Linked DNA regions of Homo sapiens: regions 1, 2, 4 and 5 are each linked to region 3. The links are contacts of gene promoters, found by promoter capture Hi-C in blood cells and fetal thymus (Javierre and others, 2016). All regions are on one chromosome and are shown on one strand. Each heading gives the region's core, a stretch centred on a gene start or on the middle of the fragment in contact. The rest is flanking DNA. Distances are from core to core; before and after follow the strand shown. Region 1 overlaps CASC15 (cancer susceptibility 15). Region 2 overlaps CASC15 (cancer susceptibility 15). Region 3 holds the start of CDKAL1 (CDKAL1 threonylcarbamoyladenosine tRNA methylthiotransferase). Region 4 overlaps CASC15 (cancer susceptibility 15). Region 5 overlaps CASC15 (cancer susceptibility 15).

What was found. The method cuts DNA at HindIII sites, captures the fragments that hold promoters and counts their contacts. A CHiCAGO score of 5 or more calls a contact.
Region 1: a contact is called between a fragment that was not itself captured here and the fragment with the promoter of CDKAL1 in region 3, in 1 of 17 cell types (fetal thymus). The highest score is 5.7, in fetal thymus.
Region 2: a fragment that was not itself captured here is called in contact with the fragment with the promoter of CDKAL1 in region 3 in 1 of 17 cell types (fetal thymus); the score reaches 5.3 in fetal thymus.
Region 4: a contact is called between a fragment that was not itself captured here and the fragment with the promoter of CDKAL1 in region 3, in 1 of 17 cell types (fetal thymus). The highest score is 6.1, in fetal thymus.
Region 5: a fragment that was not itself captured here is called in contact with the fragment with the promoter of CDKAL1 in region 3 in 1 of 17 cell types (fetal thymus); the score reaches 7.7 in fetal thymus.

What each region holds. Positions count from the first base shown.
Region 1 is chr6:22,064,586-22,068,947 of GRCh38, forward strand. The region is part of intron 8 of CASC15 (cancer susceptibility 15); the gene reads left to right. Among named protein-coding and RNA genes, the nearest start is that of NBAT1, 80 kb to the right of the region's middle. The HindIII fragment of the contact is 2,676 bases long and covers 1,568-4,243 here.
Region 2 is chr6:21,936,526-21,941,054 of GRCh38, forward strand. All of the region lies in intron 5 of CASC15 (cancer susceptibility 15), which reads left to right. Among named protein-coding and RNA genes, the nearest start is that of NBAT1, 210 kb to the right of the region's middle. The HindIII fragment of the contact is 2,987 bases long and covers 611-3,597 here.
Region 3 is chr6:20,532,589-20,536,504 of GRCh38, forward strand. CDKAL1 (CDKAL1 threonylcarbamoyladenosine tRNA methylthiotransferase) reads left to right here and starts at 1,869. Exons shown (of 16, transcript NM_017774.3): 1 at 1,869-1,986; 2 at 2,763-2,806. RefSeq lists enhancers at 1,798-1,957, 1,988-2,067. The HindIII fragment of the contact is 2,844 bases long and covers 1,688-3,916 here.
Region 4 is chr6:22,020,406-22,024,649 of GRCh38, forward strand. CASC15 (cancer susceptibility 15) reads left to right here. Exons shown (of 12, transcript NR_015410.2): 7 at 1-137. Among named protein-coding and RNA genes, the nearest start is that of NBAT1, 120 kb to the right of the region's middle. The HindIII fragment of the contact is 7,165 bases long and covers 1-4,244 here.
Region 5 is chr6:22,148,343-22,152,837 of GRCh38, forward strand. All of the region lies in intron 9 of CASC15 (cancer susceptibility 15), which reads left to right. Among named protein-coding and RNA genes, the nearest start is that of NBAT1, 3.4 kb to the left of the region's middle. RefSeq lists an enhancer at 3-2,816. The HindIII fragment of the contact is 176 bases long and covers 2,029-2,204 here.

The DNA of each region.
Region 1 (4,362 bases), core at 1,656-4,155, 1.5 Mb after region 3:
GGCCAGTCTCTCAAGGCTGCTAATACCTGCTATTGGTTATGAGTATCTACTTTGAGCTGACACTTCAAAATGTTATACATATTATTTGCATTTACATATGTGAAACAATCACCCTTTCTTTAAGCAATGTAAAGTAAAACAAGACATATTTTTAAACTACTAAACTGACTCAGTTGGAGAATAATGATAAAAACCAGTATTACTATGGGTAAGGAAAAAAACCTGCCATTTTGGGGGAAATTTTTTGTATACTCTCTAAAGGTGATTTCACGATATGTAAAATCAAAAGCCACAAAATATTCTTACAGTTTCAGCAGTTCAGCTTCTAGGCAAATTTTTTCTCAGACTGTGATCAAATGTGTAAAAAATTTAGCTATAAGAATGCTTGATCGCAAACTTATTTATTTTTGATACATTTTGCTAGAAATGTCTAAATAATATTACAGTGGTCAAATAAATTATAGTAGAAATATGCAATAAAATACCAAGTGAGGCATTAAGCAGTGGTGTAGATTTCTCTAAGACCCTGTTTTTTTAAAAAACTAACAAATCAGTGTTTCATGCATTCAGTATGTGCAGATATATTATAAGCAGTTTGTGAGATTTATATAAATCTAAAAGTTGTTACAGCTGTGTGATTAGAGAATAATTAAATGGCTTTATTTTGCCTGTTGTTATAATTTTCTAATATTCAAGTGTATTACCTGCACATTAAATACAGAAAATGGCAAACATGGAAATAGCATATTGGGAGTATACTTGTAAGTTACCTAGAGATATTTGTGAAGACGAGGAAGGGAAAGAGGTTTCTTTCTTTTCTTTTCTTCTTTTTTTTCCTAGATGATGTCTTAGCAGAAAGTGTTAAAGACTAGTGATTGATTAATTAGTTCAACAAATATTTGTGTGCCTCTATGTGCCAGGTACTGGACAAGACTCTGGTCACATTGCTATGTACTTTTCACAGGAAAAATTGCTGAATCTGTTCTGTTTGATATTCTGCATCAATGTAGCTTTACCAGTAGAGAGTCAATAATATGAATATGAAAGTAATATGGGCATGTAAAATTATGATGTCACGGCCCAGCATGGTGGCTCATGCCTGTAATCTCAGCACTGTGGGAGGCCGAGGCAGGTGGATCACCTGAGGTTAGGAGTTCGAGACCAGCCTGACCAACATGGTGAAACGCTGTCTCTACTAAAAATATAAAAATTAGGTGGGTATGGTGGTGGGCGCCTGTAATCCTAGCTACTTGGGAGGCGGAGGCAGGAGAACTGCTTGAACCCGGGAGGCAGAGGTTTCAGTGAGCCAATATTGTGCCGTTGCACTCTAGCCTGGGTAACAAGAGTGAAACTCCATCTCAAAAAAAAAAAAAATTATGATGTCAGACTGACGTTTTGCTTCGTATTTTTACATATGCGTTTTATCTGCTTTATGCTGTTTCACATATTAAATGTGTGAAACTTTTTCTGTACTGTAGATAGTTGACACCATGAATTGTCTGGAAAGTCAAAAGCAAAAATTGAGAAGACTTGTTATAATTAATGAAAACTTTAAAGGACATTAAAAAGCTTATTTGCAAGTGCTTTGAAAAATCTGACTTTTCCATATTTTGTGAGGTTTTGGCTTTGATACTCAATCTTGGTTTAATGTTCTGCAGGTGTCCTTTGGGGAGTTAGAACAGGGTTTGCAGGGATGGGGAGATTGAGTGTGATGACTCTAGTGTCCACTCACTTGGAATGTTGAGACTCTGAGGCCTTAAATAGGAGGTTTAGATTTGGGATGTCTGACTGAAAGAGGGTTAGGATTCAGGCTGATGTGGAGATGCTCATTGAGGAGTTCAAATTCTTCTCTGAGCCCTTAAGAATCTACCCAAAGGACAGTCTTCTGATGTTCAGTCTCTTTCTCATGAAAATGATCTTAGAAGTTTAATCCTTCAAATGACCTCTTAACATGACTTCTCATACTGGTGTGAGATTAGAAAAAAAAAATTCCAGCCTGAACCATCAAGGGCTCCAAAATGAAGATTTTTTTTGAGTTTTAAAACTCTGAAAAAGTTTTTCATAAGTTATAAAAACAGAAAGGTTCTTGAGAGGAAGGGTTTGTTTTGGGTCAGTGCCAATGTGCCACAGTTGCTTTCCTTGTGTGTGTTTGTGTGTTTGTCTTTGTCTTCTGTCTGCCTGTCTGCGGGGATGATTATGGATTCTTGAACTTGGTTCTTTCTTTCCTATTGATTGGTGAAGGGAAGAAGTTAAACTTTGGATTTGGCTCTATTTCCATTGTCCATTGAATCGGGAGAGTTAGCCCATTGGTTATTCTATTGCTCTTTTGCTATGATTTTGTGGGAAAATTGTCATTTTCACTTCCCCCTTCTTCTCTCCATCCTTTCCTCTCGTTAAAACAGACATGATGCCTTTAACGAATTGCCTTGGGATAGTTTGAAGTATAAAGGGAGGAAAAAGAGATTTAGCTCTTCCTGAGACAAGCCCTGAGTAGTAAAATCAATAATTCAAGAAATCACTTGCCCTTTAAAAAACAAACAAAAAAAGACTTGTAAATAGAACAAGATTGAGAAAAACATGTCTTTAGGCAGGCTAATCTAATCACACACAGAAGGCAGCCTGTTTTCTTACTTGCTGGATCGCTTCCACTTTATATTCTCACAGGGAACAATATATTAAGTACAGTATTTAGAAATATTTGTTGAATCCTACTGTCTGATTTTGGCAAGTCCCAAGGAAAAAAAGAATATGTCTTGGACTGCTTGAGCCTTCCTGGGAGGATATTGGAGTTTTCCCAGAGAGGCTGGCTTCACACTGTGGGAAACACTGGTTTGGTAGATAACACTGTTAGAATTTATATTTCAGAGGGCATTTAGTTGTCTTCAGAGTTTTAGAGCAGCCACAGCTGATCTTCTATGTCTCAGGATCTGAAGAAACTCAAAGTATAAGCTAGGCTTTCTTTATACTGATGTAGTCATTCTCTTTTGAGGGGCACCCTAACTTGTAACTCACTGATCCTGTGTTATGGCAGCAGGCTGAGTTCACCAGCACCAAAATATCCAGTTAGTGTATCAGAAGAGAAAATGTGGGTGTCACAAATAAGAGTAGCTAAAAGATAGGACATTATAGGGTGAAAGGTCCATTGGCTGATGCCGCCTTCTCTCAGGGAATGTTAAAGTGTCAACATTTTGGCAAAATCCTAAGCTAATTTTGTTTAAATGTGATCATCACATAGCATTGACTGAGTAATTGAAATTTGTGATGGGAAATAAGGATGAAATATTTAGAAAGTATGTTATGGCCCCTTTGCTTAAGAGTATATGCTAAAATAAAAGTATCTCATTACGAGGAATGTAAGTGAAATAAATTCTTTCAGTTTAATTTTCTCAGCATGTATCTGGCATTAAGTAGTTTTTATAAATCTTATGCAAGGGCCTATCCCACAGCTCTATTCCATTGGTGGCTTAAATGTGAAGTAGGCATATCTGAAGGGTTCTTTTGCTCTGTATTATAATGTTGAGAAGTTAGTTATTGAACCTATAGCTTTTCATCTCTAGAATGGAGATAAGAGAATCATCCTCAGAGTTTAAAAAAAAAACTTTTAATTTTTAAGTAGTTTTAGATTTACAGAAATGTAGCAAAAAAAGGAAGAGTGTAGTCTTACATCCCTTGCCTGGTTCCTTTTCTTGTTACCTTATTATGTATGCTTGTCAAAAAAAATTCAACATTGGGACTTGCCTATTAAATGACTCCACAGTTTGGGTTTTTTTTTTTTTATCTTTATATTTCACTGGTTCTTCCCTAATATCCTTTTCTGTTCCAGGGTCATACTGGATACGACATTGCATTTAGTAGTCATGTCTCTTTAGATTCCTCTGAACTATGAGGGTTTTTCAGCCTTTCCTTGTTTTAATGAGCTTAACAGTTTTGAGGCGTGCTGGTCAGATATTTTGTAGAATGTCCTTCAACTGAAATTCATCTCATGATTGGACTTGGTTATGGGTTTTTTCAGAGGAAGACCACAGAGGTGAAGCACCATTCTCCACCATCATATCAAGAGTACCTATGATCACCATGACGTATCACTATAGATGTTGATCTTGATAACCTGGCTGAGGTCATGGTGCCAAGTCTCTTCACTGCAAATTTGCCTTCCCCCGACTTTTTCCCATACTGCACTCTTTGGAATGAAATTACTAAGCACATGTCATAGGGTTATTTTAAGGTTTAAGTGAGATGATGAAGCTTGTGGTATAAAACCCAGTGCTTTAGAAAACACTCATGAATGTCAGTTGCTACTGTAGTTGCTGCCTTTACACTAGTCCCTTTCAATACATGAAAGCTAGTATTCTTTAGAGCTGC
Region 2 (4,529 bases), core at 854-3,353, 1.4 Mb after region 3:
AGTGAAGTGTTTTTATGCCATTTCACCCAGAACCAGAAGTCTGACCTAATCCATATTGATTTTGTACATAGGAGGTGGCCGCTGTTCCTTTCCACGTTAAAGCAGTCGTGCATGTAAATTCTGGGGACTATAGTCACTTCTACATTGTACATGAGTCCTGTGAGGCTTTAGGTAGTCTGAATTATCATGTAATATAATTAGGTTATATGTATATGGAATTATGATGGGAATCTAGGTAAGGAGACAAAAAATTAAGACGGCATATGAGGCCAGGTAAGGTGGCTGATGCCTGTAATCCCAGCACTTTGGGAGACCAAAGCAGGAGGGTTGTTTGAGTCCAGGAGTTTGAGACCAGCCTGGGCAACATAGTGAGATACTGTGTCTACAAAAAAATACAAAACTTAGCCTGGCGTGGTGGTGCACACCTGTAGTCCCAGTCCCAGCTACTCTGGAGGCCAAGATGGGAAGATGCAGTGGGTCATGATTACACCACTGTATTGCAGCCTTGGTGAAAGAGGGAGACCTTGTCTTAAAAAAAAAGAAAAGAAAAAGAAGGCATACAATATGTATGTATAGATTTGCGTGCACACACATAATGATACTTTTGATAAGCTTAATTAATAACAGGCTAAGCCTCCAGTGATTATATTATTGTCCTCAAGGAGCATCCCTCTACTTAATATGTCATTACTATTCTAAAGGATAAACATATCTAATTCAAGAGAATATTAATCTTTGTCAAATGTTTGATATAAAAACATTAATTTTCCTGTATCATCATTCTCCATATTTTTGGCAATTAAGAGAGAAAGCTCATAATGATGGTCAAAAAATAGCTTTAAAAAGTTGGTGGTAGAGTTAGAAGACTATGTTTTGTACACTAGGATTTAGCCTTTTTCCAAAAGAGACCAGAAGAAGAGATTCTGCCATTTCCTGACTGAGTCATGGGTCACTCGAAGAAACTGAACCTATTTATCTATTAATATTTCAAGCAGGGTAGGAGTCAATACAGGGAATTAGGTTGTAACTGTTAAAAGGACTAGAGCAGCAAATGAATGGTGGAGGTGTCGGTGTTTCCTAGACCAGTAACTGCAGGAAACTATTACTTCTAATGCCAGAGTATGTCTTCGTCGCCCCACCACGGCCTACTCAGTCACTACAGGAGACCAGCGCCTAGAGCTTGTGTTACAAGACTCTGTACAAATCTGCTGCTGCTATTGCTGCCAGAGTCAAAGACAAATGGATTCTGCCATCTTCCAGTTTTGTATAAGTGCCTTTGAAAGAACCTAAACCTAGAACCTTGCTGGCCAAGGAATCTGAGAAATATAGTTTCCAGACTTAGAACCCCTGTGATCGTGTTAGATCTTAGAGAAAAATAAGGATGGCTCTAATTAACATAAGTATTCATTGACATCTTTGTATTTGGTTTACATAATATTGTGTGCTGTCTGATAGTGAAGACTCTAAGCTGCTTGAAGGTAGGAATAGGTCTCATATACTTTTATAATCCCACAAAGCGTAGCACAGTGCCTTATGCTTGTGCAGTTTTCTTCTACATAATTATTTCATATAACTGTAACCCAAACACTAAGCATGCCTTCAAATGAAAGATCAATCTTCTTTATCACTGGTCAGTTCCAGAGCCATCAATTAAAGAATCTGAGGCCTTCTTCTCATTAGTCCCTGAGGCAAAAGTCAAGGAAACTTAAGACTGTATTCCGTAGGATTCCTGAGCTAGGTCATCAGTATATTACATTTTTCTACTTAAAGAATAGTATTAGATTTCTTACAAGATGAGGGCTTTGGAGGCATAAGTATATGCAGGTACGTCAATTAATAGTTGCCCAAGTGAGGCCGGGAACGGTGGCTCACGCCTGTAATCCCAGCACTTTGGGAGGCCGAGGCGGGCGGATCACGAGGTCAGGAGTTCGAGACCAGCCTGGCCAATATGATGACACCCCATCTCTACTAAAAATACAAAAATTAGCCGGGCGTGATGGCACACGCCTGTAGTGCCAGCTACTCTGGAGGCTGAGGCAGAAGAATCTCTTGAACCCAGGAGGCAGAGGTTGCAGTGAGCTGAGATCATGCCACTGCACTCCAGCCTGGGTGATAGAGTGAGACTCCGTCTCAAAACAGAAAAAGTAAAAAAAAAGTTGCCCAAGTGATTTCACACTTACTGTTTAGAGAACTGTTTTGTGGTGGTGTGGTGCATTCTGTGCTTGGTGAAACAGAGGAGAAATTTCTGACTCACCCTCCCAGATGTAGTGGAAAAAAAAAAGATCAAAACATTCTGTAATATTAAGTAATAATAATAACTTCTTATTTTTTCTAGTCTAACAAATGATGAAATTTTTTTTTGAGATGGAGTTTCACTCTTGTTGCCCAGGCTGGAGTTCAATGGTGCGAGCTCAGCTCACTGCAACCTCCGCCTCCTGGGTTCAAGGAATTCTCCTGTCTCAGCCTCCCGAGTAGCTGGGATTAGAGGCATGCACCACCACCCCCGGCTAATTTTGTATTTTTAGTAGAGATGGGGTTTCTCCATGTTGGTCAGGCTGGTCTTGAACTCCCGACCTCAGGTGATCGCCCGCCTTGGCTTCCCAAAGTGCTGGGATTATAGGTGTGAGCCACCATGTCCAGCCATGAAGACAATTTTTTAAGAGAAGCAAAAAAAAAAAAAAAAAAAAAGTTACATAAAACCCAGTTACTTGAATACTGTACTGAATGATTTTGGCATATTTCCAACTGGCTCACTTTCAGTCATTCCTTGTCTTTTTTTTGTGTGTGGGGGGATGGAGTTTTGCTGTGTTGCCCAGGCTGGAGTGCAATGGCGCGATCTCAGCTCACTGCAACCTCCACCTTCCAGGTTCAAGTTATTCTCCTGCCTCAGCCTCCCAAGTAGCCAGGATTACCGGCGCCCACCACTACGCCTGGCTAGTTTTTGTATTTTTACTAGAGACGAGGTTTTACTTATTGGCCAGGCTGGTCTGGAACTCAAGTTATCCACTGCCTCAGCCTACCAAAGTGCTGGGATTACAGGCGTGAGCCACCGTGCCCCCACCTGTTCTTTGTCTTTTGTGAGTGTTTTTGCATAGATCATTGGGTCATGAGTATACTTCTTTCTCTTTTTCTTTTTTTTTTTGAGATGGAGTTTTTGCTCTGTTCCCCAGTCTGCAGTGCAATGGCGTGATTTTGGCTCACTGCAACCTCCGCCTCCCAGGTTGTAGCAATTTCCTGCCTCAGCCTCCTGAGTAGCTGTGATTACAGGCACCTGCCACCATGCTGGACTAATTTTTCTATTTTTAGTAGAGATGGAGTTTCACCATGTTGGCCTGGCTGGTCTCGAACTCCTGATGACCTCAGGTGATCCACCCGCCTGGGCCTCCCAAAGTTCTAGGATTACAGATGTTAGCCACTGTACCTGGCCATGAGTATACTTTTTATTGCTAGGTAATATTTTGTAATATTTTACTAATTAGGTCCGCCATAGTTTACATTTCCTTATCGTTGAACACTCCTCATTTGCCATTACAAATAATGCTGCCTGACATATTGTGCCTAAAATTTTTCAGGCTTTTGATCATTTCCTTAAGCTGAAGCTTTAGGACCAGACCTTTTTGGGTTAAGTAAATTAAGGATTTATTTTTCTTTATATTTCAAATAATTTTTTAAAATTAAAGTATAACACACATGTGGAAAGTACACAAATCATACGTATAAAGCTCAGCTCAATGAATATTTATAAATTCTTTCACATAGGCAGCATTTGATTAATTGCCAGCACCTCGGAAACTATTGTCATGCCTTCTCTTGGATTAGTTTTGCCAAATTTATAACTTTATATAAATGAAATATTACTGCATATATGTTTTTGAGTTGGGCGGTTTATTTTCCCCTCAACATCATGTTTGAAAGGTTCAAAGATGTTACTATCACTATTTTGTTATATGAATATACTTTATCCACCCTACCATTTTTGTTTGTTTGTTTGTTTTGAGACTGAGTTTTGCTCGTATAGCCCAGGCTGGAGTGCAATAGCACAATCTCGGCTCACTGCAACCTCCGCCTCCTGGTTTCAAGCGATTCTTCTGCCTCAGCCTCCTGAGTAGCTGAGATTACAGGCACCCGCCACCACCCCTGGCTAATGATTGTATTTTTAGTAGAAACGGGGTTTCACCATGTTGGCCAGTCTGGTCTCGAACTCCTGACCTCAGGCGATCCACCTGCTTTGGCCTCCCAAAGTGCTGGGATTACAGGCATGAGCCACCACACCCTGCCCATGCATTCGGTTTTAATAGGAATCACCAAACAGATCGTGAAACTAGTTGTACGTTTTTATACTACTACTAAAATTGCATGAAATTGGGTCTCTCTCTGTGACCCAGGCTGAAGTGCAGGGGCGTGATCATATCTCACTGCAGCCTCAACCTCAAGTGATCCTCTCTCCTTAGCCTTCAGAGTAGCTAGGACTACTGGCACACACCACCATGCCTGGCTAATTTTTAAATTTTTTGTAGAAAGATGGGGTC
Region 3 (3,916 bases), core at 619-3,118:
GAAATATCGTCCTCAAACCCATTGTCCTGAGAGAATAATCTGCTCGAACACATTCATGTTGCCTACTACATACATCCAGGATTAAGTCTAATGCCTTTGAATACACAAGGTTCACCTTGATCTAGTCCCTGTGCTTCCCTTTCTCTGGTAGACTTCTCCCATCACCAGCTTCACTCTCTTTGCTTTTACACTGTGGAATAATTCATCATTTCAGGCCTCCTTGCTTTTGCTCTGGCTGACTCTCCAGCTTGGAATGCCTTCATCCATTTCCCTTACTTCACCTTTGTGTTCCTGTGCATTCATCTTTCATAGTGATTGCTATTCTCTACTGAAATGAATTTTTTCAAAATAGCCTGCAATTGCAATAGGCAGTACTTTTTTTCTTTCTTTTTAGCTCTAGCATCTATCACAGTGCTTGTGGTCATGGGGTACATACTCAGTAAAATATCTTTTACTGAACTCAACTAGATCTTGGGGGAAAAGGGGTGGAGTCATTCATTCATTCATTCATTCATTCAACATATGTTTATTGAGAAGCTATAAACATAGGCACAAGGTTATGTGCTAGGTAGTGCGATTACAACCAAGAAGATAACCCAGGGCCTACTTTTGGTCTAGTGAAAGAGATGGAATTAGATGGGTATGGTGGTGTGCACCTGTAGTCCCAGCTACTTGGGAGGCTAAGGCATGAGAATCTCTTGAGGCTAGGAGGGAGAGGTTGCAGTGAGCTGTGATGGTAACACTGTACTCCAGCCTGGGTGACAGAAGAAGACCCTATCTAAAAAAAAAAAAAAAAAAAAAAAAAAAGTAGGGCAACATAAATACACAATTTTAATTTAGGTGGGTAAAGACAACAGTGGACCCCAGGGCACAGTTTAGATTATTTTATGGATATGGATAAACAGAGAAAAGGGTGGTTTTTTTTTTTTTTTTTAAATCTATTTTAGAGACTGGGTCTCACTGTGTTGCCCAGGCTGTTTTCAAACTTCTGAGCTCAAGTGATCCTCCCACATCAGCCTCTTGAGTAGATGGATGGCATTTTAATTAGATGAAATTGTACTAGGAAAGGCATTTGCAAAACAAAGTAATTGCCCCAAATCACTATGAAACCCTAAGTCAGGCATAAAACTCACGATTTCTGACCCTTCTTCATGGCCTATTGCCTCCTATTACCTTTACTTTTTCAAGTAAAGATATTCTTCTGGTAAACACATGGTCAAATACAGTGTCTTGGGTAACGAATAGTAAAGTGAGATAACATATGTAGAGAAAGCGGGTGAGAATCCGTACTCCATAAAAGTATTTTCTTTCCATAGGTGTCTGCTAAACTGCCATCTAAGTTTTCCAAAACAAAAAACAAAAACACTTGTGTGGTGCTCAATGATGTATATTAAGTGAAACCTACCAACTGACCTTTATCCTTTCCTTCCTGTTTTTTTAATATTAAAGAAGAGACCTCTTTTCACAAATGATTGAGGAGGCTAGTAAAATGCAGTGAAAAGAGCAAGTTCTTTGGGAGTCAGACAGCATCGGATCCAGCCCAGAGCGCAGCACGACTAGTAGAGTAACTTAGATTAAGTCCTTAAACTTCCAGTGTCCTCTTTTGTAAACTGGGAATAATAATAATAATAAATAAATAGTGAATAATATTTATGCAAAGTACTTAGCACAGTGTCTAACACATAAAAGCTTAGGAGAAGTTGGCTATTAAGCATTTCTAGGAACCCGAGGACTCAGGGTTGTTATTTTAGTTCTTGGAATCAAAGGAACTTGAAGCGTAGTCATTCCTAAACTAAGTTAAACCAGAACTAGCGCTTTCAGCAATGATGTAATTTGATCTCTTCGGGCCACCGTCGCTGAGCATGCGCAAATAAACGTGGCGGGACGTATGTGTCATGGCGCTCTCCATCTAAAGTCTGTGCAGCTTCCGGAGAGTGGCGGGTTGATTTTCTCACTTTGGACTGGTTTTTACTTCCCGACTTCTGGGTAAGGGTGGCCGATGGGTCCATGTGGGGCAGAGTGTGGCCACAGCTCCTTTTATGGCCAAGCCTTGTTTCTCCAGTTTCAGTTTTTCTTGGGCTGTTTGCAAATTTGTTTCGCAGTTAAAAGGGGATTTGCCAGCTGGGATGGGGGAATTGGGAGGCAGATGGGGCTTCCAGGAGCGAGGATAGGGTCGTTGGCCTCAGGTGCCGCTCTCCAGTTAGGAGTATTTTAGGCACCTCGTTCCTTATTGTCAGGTTTAACTTCATTTGTTCTCCCACTTTATACCTTAGTGAATTTGTAGATGTGACAAGGCTTTCGCAGTTATATAGCTTTCCCAGATCAGTATGTTAAGAATTTAAGCAGAAGTTATTGAGAAAAGCAGGTGTCTTGCTTTTTCACTTTTCGTTCTTCTTTGCTCATAAAACCTTTTTCTGAATCTCGGGACGACAGTTATCTTTCGGATGGAACGTGATCTGGATGTCTATCTACCTTATTGACTTAATCCTGTTTTGTAGTGGTTGGTTACTCGCACTATGCAGACGTGTTGCGGTGCTGAATACAACATTTATTACTAAAGCCAGACACTGGATCACCGTCACGGCAGATGTCAGCACACCTGTTGTAATCAGTAAGAAGTTACAAGTAGTATGGAGCATCATTAATCCTGCTGTATAAAGCAGTCTTTTATGGAGTCTGATTCCTTTTAAGTAAAGAATCCTTACAGTGGTTTTGTGAACTTTTTGGGTGCTTACTTTTCCTAATCAATTTTTATTTTCCAGACTCATCTTTCAAGAGGACTTTAGACTAATTGCAGATAATTAAGGTACTGATTTATTTTAAACCTTTTATGTTTGAGTGCTGTGCGTATTTCTGCATGTTAGAAAATGCAGAGAGGTAGCCTAATGTTTTAGCTATTTGCCACTATCATGTTATGGAAACATTGTGCTTTACATAGCATTAAATCGAAGAGATATTTTCATTTATTTTACTTAACCTTTCATTTTCATTCACCAGCATTGACCATGTCCACTTTTTTGAGATGCCCTTTTCATTTGCCTTCCATGGCCCATGGATTTTTTTCCTTGTCTGGTGGCTGCTTCTTGGAATCCATTATAAGCTGATTTTCCTTTATCTGGCAGTTAAATTTGGAGTCTCTCAAGTCGTGGTCTTGTACCTTCTCCTACCTCTGTTCTCTTTTTCTTCCCCTCTGGGTGATGTAATCCACATGCCTGTCAACAGTTATTTGTCTTTTTGATTCTACCCATCCTAATGGGTATGAAGTGGTGTATTATTGTGGTTTGGATTTCCATTTCCCTGATGGCTCATGATGTTGACATCTTTTCATGTGCTTATCAGCCATTTGTATGTGTGTGTTTTTGAGACACGGCTTCCCTATGCCACCCAGGCCAGAGTGCAGTGGCTCGATTACGGCTCACTGCAGCCTTGACCACCTGGTCTCAAGTGATCCCACTTCAGCCTCCCAAGTAGCTGGGACTACAGGTGCATGCCACCATGCCCGGCTAAATTTTACTTTTTTTTTTTTTTTTGTAGCGATAGGGTCCGTGTTGCCTAGGCTCTGGCCTTGTACTCCTGGCCTGAAGTGATCCTGCCACCTTGGCTTCCCAGTGTTGGGATTATAGGCATGAGCCTCTGCACCTGGCCCATTTCTGTATCTTCTTCATCTAATCTGTTTTTCCTTTTGTTGCTTGTGCTTTTCATTTCTTAGCTAAGAAAGAAGGGCCTACTCTAACATCATAAAGATTTGTGCTTATGTTTTTTTCTAAGAGTTTCATAATGTTAGCTCCTAAATTTAGGTCTATGATCCATTTTCGGTTAATTTTTGTATATGATGTGAAATGTGAAATAGGGCTCCAACTTTATTTTTTACATGTTGCTATCCAGTTATCCCAGTGTCATTTGTTGAAAAAAAAAC
Region 4 (4,244 bases), core at 1,196-3,695, 1.5 Mb after region 3:
TTTCCGTCACCAAGTCATCCCTGGGTTACTACTGAACATCCTTCTCAATTCCCCCCGACCCATGGATGGCTGTTCTCCATTGTCTGTTTCACCAGATGTCCTCAAAACAAACAGACAGAAGAAGGAAGTGGCTAATGGTAAGAATTTTTTGTCCCTCTTAGAAAAATTTTAATGCATTTACTTTAAAGTGCTGGAGATGTGAGGTTTTTCTTGTAAGTAGGTAATATGAGTATAGTTCAAACATTTTGTTTTTAGGATATCAAAATTGTAGGAACCTTCATTGGGTCCTTTCATAGTGATGAATCAGAAAAAAGATGAAAGAGTACAGTACAGATAACTTTTTCAAACGTTCAAACATTTATGACATTCTTCTGGTTTCAGATCCCAATGCTCTCTACGTGTCACTCCTGGCATGACCCACCCACACACAAAACTCAATAGAGCCAGAGACAAACTCATTCTGTCTGTTTTAACACTTTTTCCTTTGAGTTTTGTGCTTCAAAGATCGTTGTTCTCATTTCTCTGCTGTCCCCTGCTCCCCAGTCACTCATTCCCTATTCAAGCAGTTTGCCATGCCTTCCAAATATTTCTCTAATTCACCCCCATTTCCCCATTCTCCTATTTGGCCCTGACCATCTCCGGCCCTGGCTGGTTCAGTCACCTTCTTACTGGGCTATCTAGTCTATCATGGACAGTCCCTACTGCTCCCACCCTTCTCAGGTGGATCTCCTTATGTTACTTTTGTTATTGACTGAAGAGTGTATTTCAAGATTTTCAGCATTTCATGCCCCATCTTTCTCTTTGCCATAATCTTCCCACACCTGTATTCCCTGATGTCTTTGATTTGGTGGTCTAGTTCTGGTCCAGTTTCTGAATCAGTGCTGATTGAGACATAGTACATGTAAACGTTTTCCATTCTCCCCTCATCTCTTCCCCTATCCAATGGGCACTTAAAATTAAAATGACTATCCTACCAGAAATTTGGTGGCCCAGTAATGACCTCTGGGTTGCTGTGTCTTTCCTGTTGTTCCCACTACTATTCAGACCCACTTTCCTTCCCCAACATGTTGTCATTTGGTGGCTTCTATTTATAGTTCTTCCAGCCACCTTGTATTAACCTAGTCTAGGATTATACCTGGGTTTCTGTTCCTAAATTTTGACTAGTTACTAAGGTTAATAATCTTGTCTTCCTCTAACGTGGCAGCTTAGACTTCAATTTATTCTTGAGAGTTGGAGTGCCTTCCATCTGAATTCTTCTTCTTTTTTTTTTTTTTTTAAGATGGGGTCTTGTTCTGTTGCCCAGGCTGGAGCACAGTGGTAAAATCATAGCTCACTGCAGGCTGGAACTCCTGGGCTCCAACAGTCCTCCTCCTTCAGCCTCCTAAGTAGCTGGGACTATAGGCGTGTACCACCATACCTGGCTAATTTTTATTTTTTGTTGAGATGAGGTCTCGCTTTGCTGCCCAAGGTGGTCTCAAACTCCTGGCCTCAAGCTACCCTCCCACCTTGGCCTCCCAAAGTGCTGGGATTATAGGCGTGAGTCACTGCCCTTGGTCTGAATGATTCTTATCAAGACTGGTGATGGTGGCATCTAAGAACAGCTGGGGGTGACTCTTTGTTCACTGTGTGTATTAATTTCCTCTGGCTGCTGTAGCAAATTACCACAAACTTGGCACCTTAAAACAACAGACATTTAGGTTTTGACAGGGCTGAGCTCCTGCCAGAGGCTCTGGGGGAGAATCTGTTCCTTCTCTCTTCCAGCTTCTGGAAACTGCTGACATCCCTTGGCTTGTGGCCTCATCACTCCAATATCTGCCCCCTCCACGGCCACATTGCCTTCCTGTCTTCCATCTGTAGTCAAATCTGCCTCTGCTTCCCTCTTAGAAGCATACATGTAATGACATTTAAGGCCCAACTAGATAATTCAAAATAATCCCCCCATCTCAAGATCTTTAATTTCATCACATCTGCAAAGTCTTTGCATAGAAGGTAACATTTACAGGTCCCAGAGATTAGGACCTGATATATTGGTGGCCATTATTCTGTGTACTACACTGTCCATCTAGGTTGGGCCTGCTACTTCTCCTGGAAGTCCCACTCTTGACCATTTCTGAGTCATGGTTCAGTGCACTATGCCTTCCTGCTTCTCTGCCTCTTTGTCTTCCTCACCTCTACCTACAGAACTGGCCTTAGCAATGCTGTCGGTTTCCCCAAGGTCTGTCTCAGGCCCAGGGGCCAGGGCTACCTCCTGTTCCTGCTGCTTCTCTTCCTGTACACTTGCCTCCTTCTCTTTTATTGAGTTGTAGAAAATACCAAGTCTCTTTTCAAAAATCTCGTCCTGTGATGCCTCCTTCCTCACAAAGACCTTGCAATCCAGGCCCTTCCGGGCTGTCTGCGTTGTGTGACACTTAACTCGGACATATGTAGACATGCCTTGAGATGTGGGCTGCCATTTATTTATCTAAAATGCCCCTTCCCCTTGCTCTATATTGGGTGAAATATTGTACATTTTGCAAGGTCTTGTTTAAGTGTCAAATTCTCTGAGACTTTCCTAAGCCCCTCCCCCTCCTCTTTTCCATACAGAATCAATTACATCTTCCCTCTGTTCTTCCTTAGCACTCTGTTTATACTTGACTCAAACCCTTCCCACATTGTGTTATACTTTATTTTGTCTCTGTCTCTCCTTGCTGGACTTTGAGGTTCATGAGAACCAGGAAAAGGATATTATTCATCTTTTTTAATTTTAACCTGACATGGAACTCACAATACATCCTTGATATAATAATAATATGTGTTTAATTAATTGATTAATTTGAATTTTAAACTTTTCATAATTCAGAATATCTTAGAATAGATGAACATTTAATACTTTTCTCCCAATTTCCTTATGGACCCAAGAGTAATTATTTTCCTTAGATGGCTATGTACAGTCAAGCATGGCTTTTGTTTCCAGTATAAATTAATTTAAAATACTGTAATTTATGCATTCTCTTCTTTACATTTTGTTCAGTGTGGGGGTTATTACCCTTACCCCTCTAGAGAGCCAATTTACTTATTTTATTTTATTTTTGAGACAGAGGCTTGCTCTGTCATCCAGGCTGGAGTGCAGTGGCTTGATCACAGCTCACTGCAGACTTGACCTCCTGCACTCAAGCAATCCTCCCACCTCAGCCTCCCGAGTAGCTGGCACCACAGGTGTGTGCCACCATGCTTGGCTAATTTTTAAAATTGTTATTGTTTGTAGAGATAGGGGTATCCTTGTGTTGCCCAGGCTGGTCTCAAACTGGGCTCAAGTGGTCCTCCCATCTCAGCTTCCCAAAGTGCTAGGATTACAGGCGTGAGCCACTCTACTTGGCCCAATTTACTTTAATATGAGATTTTTCTAAACCTTAAAGGCTACCAGTGTAATGTTGTCACTTGATTGTCTTCTTGTAGATCCAGACTTTTAAGCAGGAATTAGGAATGTTATCTGTGAAGATTGCTTCTTTTCACTTACTGGTGCTCTACTGAAACAATACTATTTTCCTCCCTTTTCCTGGGTGTTTTGTCTGAGTACATGTGAATGTCAGAGTTATTTTCCCTGCCTTGTCACTGGAATCTGCAGCCAGCCTCCCTGATTGTGAATGCATCCATGCTGTACAGCTGGCGTCTGTTTCCTATTTCTATAGCCGTGAGTCTCTCAGGGCTTTTGTAGAGAGTACGGGTGTTTTATTACATTGCATGTCTTATATGTATGAGAAACTTAAAGGGCTTTGAGGATTTTCTTTTTCGGTATCTAATCTTCTAACAGCTCTCTGAGGTAGGTAGCAGGAAGTGTTATCTCCATTTTGCAGACGTTATAACAGAGGCATAGCACAACTTGATGTAGGCCCCACAGCAAATCAAGGGCTGAGTGGAAAAGGTCTCCCTAGTCTTTCAACCTCCACTTCAATGCACTAGTTGCCAGACAAGTTAATTTTAATTTTTAAAACCTCCATCCATTTTGGTTTTGCATGAAATGTTATTGTCAGCATTCAGGTGGTAGCAGTGCTCCAGTTCTAGTACTACCTTTCCCATCTTCTGCATCCTTCTAGAATCCCTTCTTGCTTGTCACGGTCACACACACTCATAAGTGTGTCTCTCTTTTTATGTGTGTATGTATATATGTAAATAAAGAAAATAAAAATATATACTCTTTCTTTAAAAAGAGTTTCTGTACAACATTAGGTTCTGCAGAGGGGTTGTTTGGTCTGGGGACTATATGC
Region 5 (4,495 bases), core at 867-3,366, 1.6 Mb after region 3:
TACAGAAGGAAAGGAAAAGCAATAAGTTACAGAATCTGATCATTCTTACCTCTTTCTCCAGATAGTCCTAGAGTGAATCCAGAAAGGCTTTAAAGTGAAAAGAGGAAAGAGAGAGTAAGTGATTGGGGGTGGGTGGCATGAGGAGAAGAGAATGAAACAGAGCAAGCGCACAAGAGAAAAACAGCCTTAGAACTTCAAAGCTGCATAGACAAGCAGAATGTCACCAGCTTGTAATTAGCGGTTCATGGTTGCGTCAGTGACTGTATCTATCCAAGAATAACTATGTGATATGTGCCACAAAGTGAAGAAGATAGTCATAACTAAGTTATCAAACCCAGTTCAAACAAGGGCAAATGGATTAAGAAATTTTCTGTTTGTAAATCAAATACTGATGGATTACACAGATAAGACTTAACTGAATTCTGCGTAATTGAAGGCTGAATTATCAATTTGTCAGGGGGGATATGTTCATTAAATGAAACTGTGAACGCTTAAACATGCAAATTAATCATGCGAGAAAATATCAGTGCAAGCTCTATCAATACAAGATGTTTTACTAAATAGCCAAAAATGGCACTGCCAGTCTCCTATCTCTGTATCCACACATAAATTTTTTTGTTTGTTTTTGTGCATTTCAATAGAGAGAAGTCAAAAGTTACATTCGAGTAAATAGGGTAAATTAAATTCTAAAATTCCCACTTTAGAATTTAAAAAACAACTAAGGAGTTTTGATTTTTGGTGATCTCCCGAGTTTAAACCTTGAAGGAGCTTTTGCTGTCTTGAAGCCAAACAGCAGCTAGTCAGTAATCGTTATGGGAAGTCAGGGTACCACAGTTGTTGAGATTTCAAGGCCACGTTCACTTCCCTCCCTTGTCTCTTGTGCTTGGAGATTTGGGTGCTACTACAGCCTCCACAAAGAGACAGTGGGAGGAGCTGATTGGTCCGTAGGCTTAGAATGTTTACTCTTATTTGTTTTCAGTGCTCCTCCATGGCATTCATTTTCTGTTTGTATTTGTGTTCATGCTGCACAATTACTCCTGACCTGCTTTGTTTCTCTGCCCAAAGAGAAGTCAATTTTAGTTCAGCTCTGTGTGTTTAGCTTGCTGGGTAATATGTGCATATGTATTGCATTACCCATGTATGCATTTTTCTTTTTTTAAAATGTGGATTAGGGAAAATTGTAGCATGGAAAGCTGCATATATTAAATCAATAGCTTTTTGAATCACATGTAATATAATTTAAATATACTCACTTTGAGGTTGCCAAAACTGACATTGTCTGAGCCCGTTTAATTTACATCTTCGATTTAGTCAAGAAGCGGAACCTGCCAGATCAGAATAGTGTATTCTGTGCACCCAACAGGGTGGAAGACATTATTTTGTTTGTGTTAGTTCAAACAGCTGGTCATTAATGCAGTCCCCATTTCTAGAGCGAAGTGCTGCTGGACATGAATGCCCGCCTGATTAATGCTGCCCCTCCGAGGGTCCTTCACCCAGCAGTCATGCTCGCAGCAGAATAATGTAGCATGATGTGATTGCACTCTAACAGGATAGTATGTCATTGTGTCACCAAGCAATTGAGGTTATTATGGGGCAGGGCAGACAGACGGGACAGTGGGGTTACTAGACCGTAGCATTTTTAGAAATACAGGCCTGACCTACTTAGAGTTATTCTCTCTGGCTGGCAGCTGCATGGTACATAAAGTCTCCTGATAGGCTGAGTCTGTTGCTAGGGGGAATTAGCATGAATTTTTCCACACACAGACTCAGTGGCTGAATGATAAAAGCTGACTGGAATTAAAGAGATTTGGTTTAGTATTATACAGATTTATGTGCCTCCTTTTCTTTCTCAAGTGCAGAGAAAGAGTGCAAAACACAGATTTTGTTTCCATTTGTTCTTTGACCTTCTTGTTCTCTCCCCCTCCCCTCAAGATGCATGAGGGGAGGAGGGCAGGGCAGTTATGAAATTTTGGTTAATCTCTCACTGTTGGGGTCACTGAAACGATGTCGCAAATTGCAAGATATTTAAGCTTAAAAACTGTTGGGAATGACTAACAGAAGGTTAGATTATTTTTCCTCTTCTGTGCACTAAGCTGTTTTGAAGTTGGGCATGCATCTTTCATGCACTGTATATTTAAACTCTCTTTCCCTTTTGGGCTTGAACAAAACATTTATATAAATTCTTTTCTATCCAAACAGATTGAAGCTTGCAATCTCTGTCTTGTTTAAAACAAGGTGGTCAGGATTCCAGATTTAGATAGGAAAAAAATATATATACCATTTTTGTTATTACAAAATATTATTTTCTGGGGTATTGTGGGTTTGGCTCCCTTTTCAAAAACCAGCCTGATGTGGATGCTTATGGATGAAACTGAACTGCTCCTACCCTACCCTGTTGGCTTCACAATGTATAGGAAAACATAGGTTTTTCTCCAGAAGAAAATCTGCCTGCAGAATGTATCTGGAGGTTGTTTTCCTTGTTGCTGACATATGCACTGCATGTAGACAACTCACATAATCAACTGTATAAGATGACCCATTTTTTTCCTTCTCATGGATCTCCAAGTGTCTGTGGCTTTTAATAGATCTTTTCTAGAGGAGGAGTCTTGATAGATCTTTTTAAGGTAATCTGAAAAGCCATCAGGAGAAAAATTAAAGCAACACATATTTAAGAATACTTTAATTTTTCTTGTTCTTAATTATATGCTAACTGTGCTTAAACTGCAATTTCTTTCTGTTACCTTTTACTGCTGAAAGTAGTGATTATCCTTGCCTTTTAGATTTGAAATTAATTTTCGTGAGAACACCCTGGGATATCACAAGTAAAAAAGAAACTGGGCTACATAAAGGAAAAGAATAATAGAGATTCTTGTAAACTTGTCACATTAGTTTTTTTTGCCCACGTGAAAAAGGCAAGAGAAAATTTAGGTGTAGATTTTTCTTTTCATTTACATTTTAAAAAATATTTGGAACTATTTAGATACATAATGCTTTAAAACAGTGATTCCTACTTATAGCGGAGACTACAGTCAAAACAAAATAAAACAAATCCTCTAATGCTATCAGAGCCAAGAAATCTATCAATCATATATACATTTTTTAAATCCAGGAGTGTTTACATTTCAGCATATAAATCTTATCAAGCTAAAATAGAGTATATATTCTGATGTTGTAATTGATCGATCATACCCTCACTGGCTTTGAGAGTCCCCAAACATTTATTGTAAAGGTTTCCAACTACACTAGCAATCTTTTGTAATTGAATAAAATGCCAATTTATATTTGTTGAATAAAAGATTATCTGGGGTACTGCTCCTTCCGAAATGAAGCAATTTCTTTGTTGTTTTAATAAGTGAACATTTTTTGGTTTTCTTTTGCAGTATTTATTTTGCTTAGGTCAATGGACAATTATTTAAATATTTAAATGCAAATATATAGAAATAAAATGTCACTTTAAAATCACTTAAGAAAGGAAAAACGTCAACATACTTTTATTAACATTCTTTAATAAACATATGGCTAATTTGTATGTAAAGCACAGCCTGTTTCCAGGTACCCAGTCCAATCAAATGTTTATAGTTTGATTAAAAATAAATTGATCACATTATAATAGTTCAATATAAGTCTTATTTGGCTGTTTAGGTTGCTAAGAATTTCCCATTGTTTTTATCCATTACCAGGGAGGTAAGTATTCAATAAGTCAAAAACAAAAACAAAGCAAGCATATTTTAAAATGTCATTTATGCTGACTTGGCTAAGCTTAAGCTTATACTTAAGCTTGAATCCTAGATATTCACTTAGACAATGTATGTCATAGTATTCATTTCATCCTTTGCCATTCATTAAAACACCAAAGGAGCGATCATCCTCACTCATTGCATCAATCATTTATTTATTAGGTATTTATTTTCTGCTCACACAGGAGGCTAACTTCTCCAGTTATAAGGTTCAACATAGACCAATGAGGTTTTGGTGGGATTGGTGGGTAAACAAAAAAGGGAATATAAGCAGTTGATTGTGGTGGGCCACGAAGCGCAGGTGAATCTTGTGTTGAATAGTTTCCCTGACTGTATTCTGTCTGACACCTAATGTTACTTAGTCCTTACAACTTTGGGGAAGAACTGGTGCCCTTACTATCAGATGCTTGGAGATGATCAGCTCTCCTGATGTCACAGAGAAGCTACATCTCTTCCAAACTGTCTCAACACTTTTATAATATGAAAGATCTATCAGTAAGTCAGAATGTGCCTTTTGTGAAGTCATAAAAGCATAATGTAAACCAGTGATTTTTGACATCACTGTTAAAATGGGTAATAGTATCTCAACCATAATACCTGAAGCGCCCAAACTGTACACTGCCGGAGACCTTATCTGATTCCCTCAGCCTGATGCCTCCTGGGCTTCCTTTTTACCAGGCTCCTGTCTTATTAGACCAGCCATCACCTGGTGGTATTCTTTAGTCTGTTTCCCCACTAGTCTCTAACCCATTCTTCAT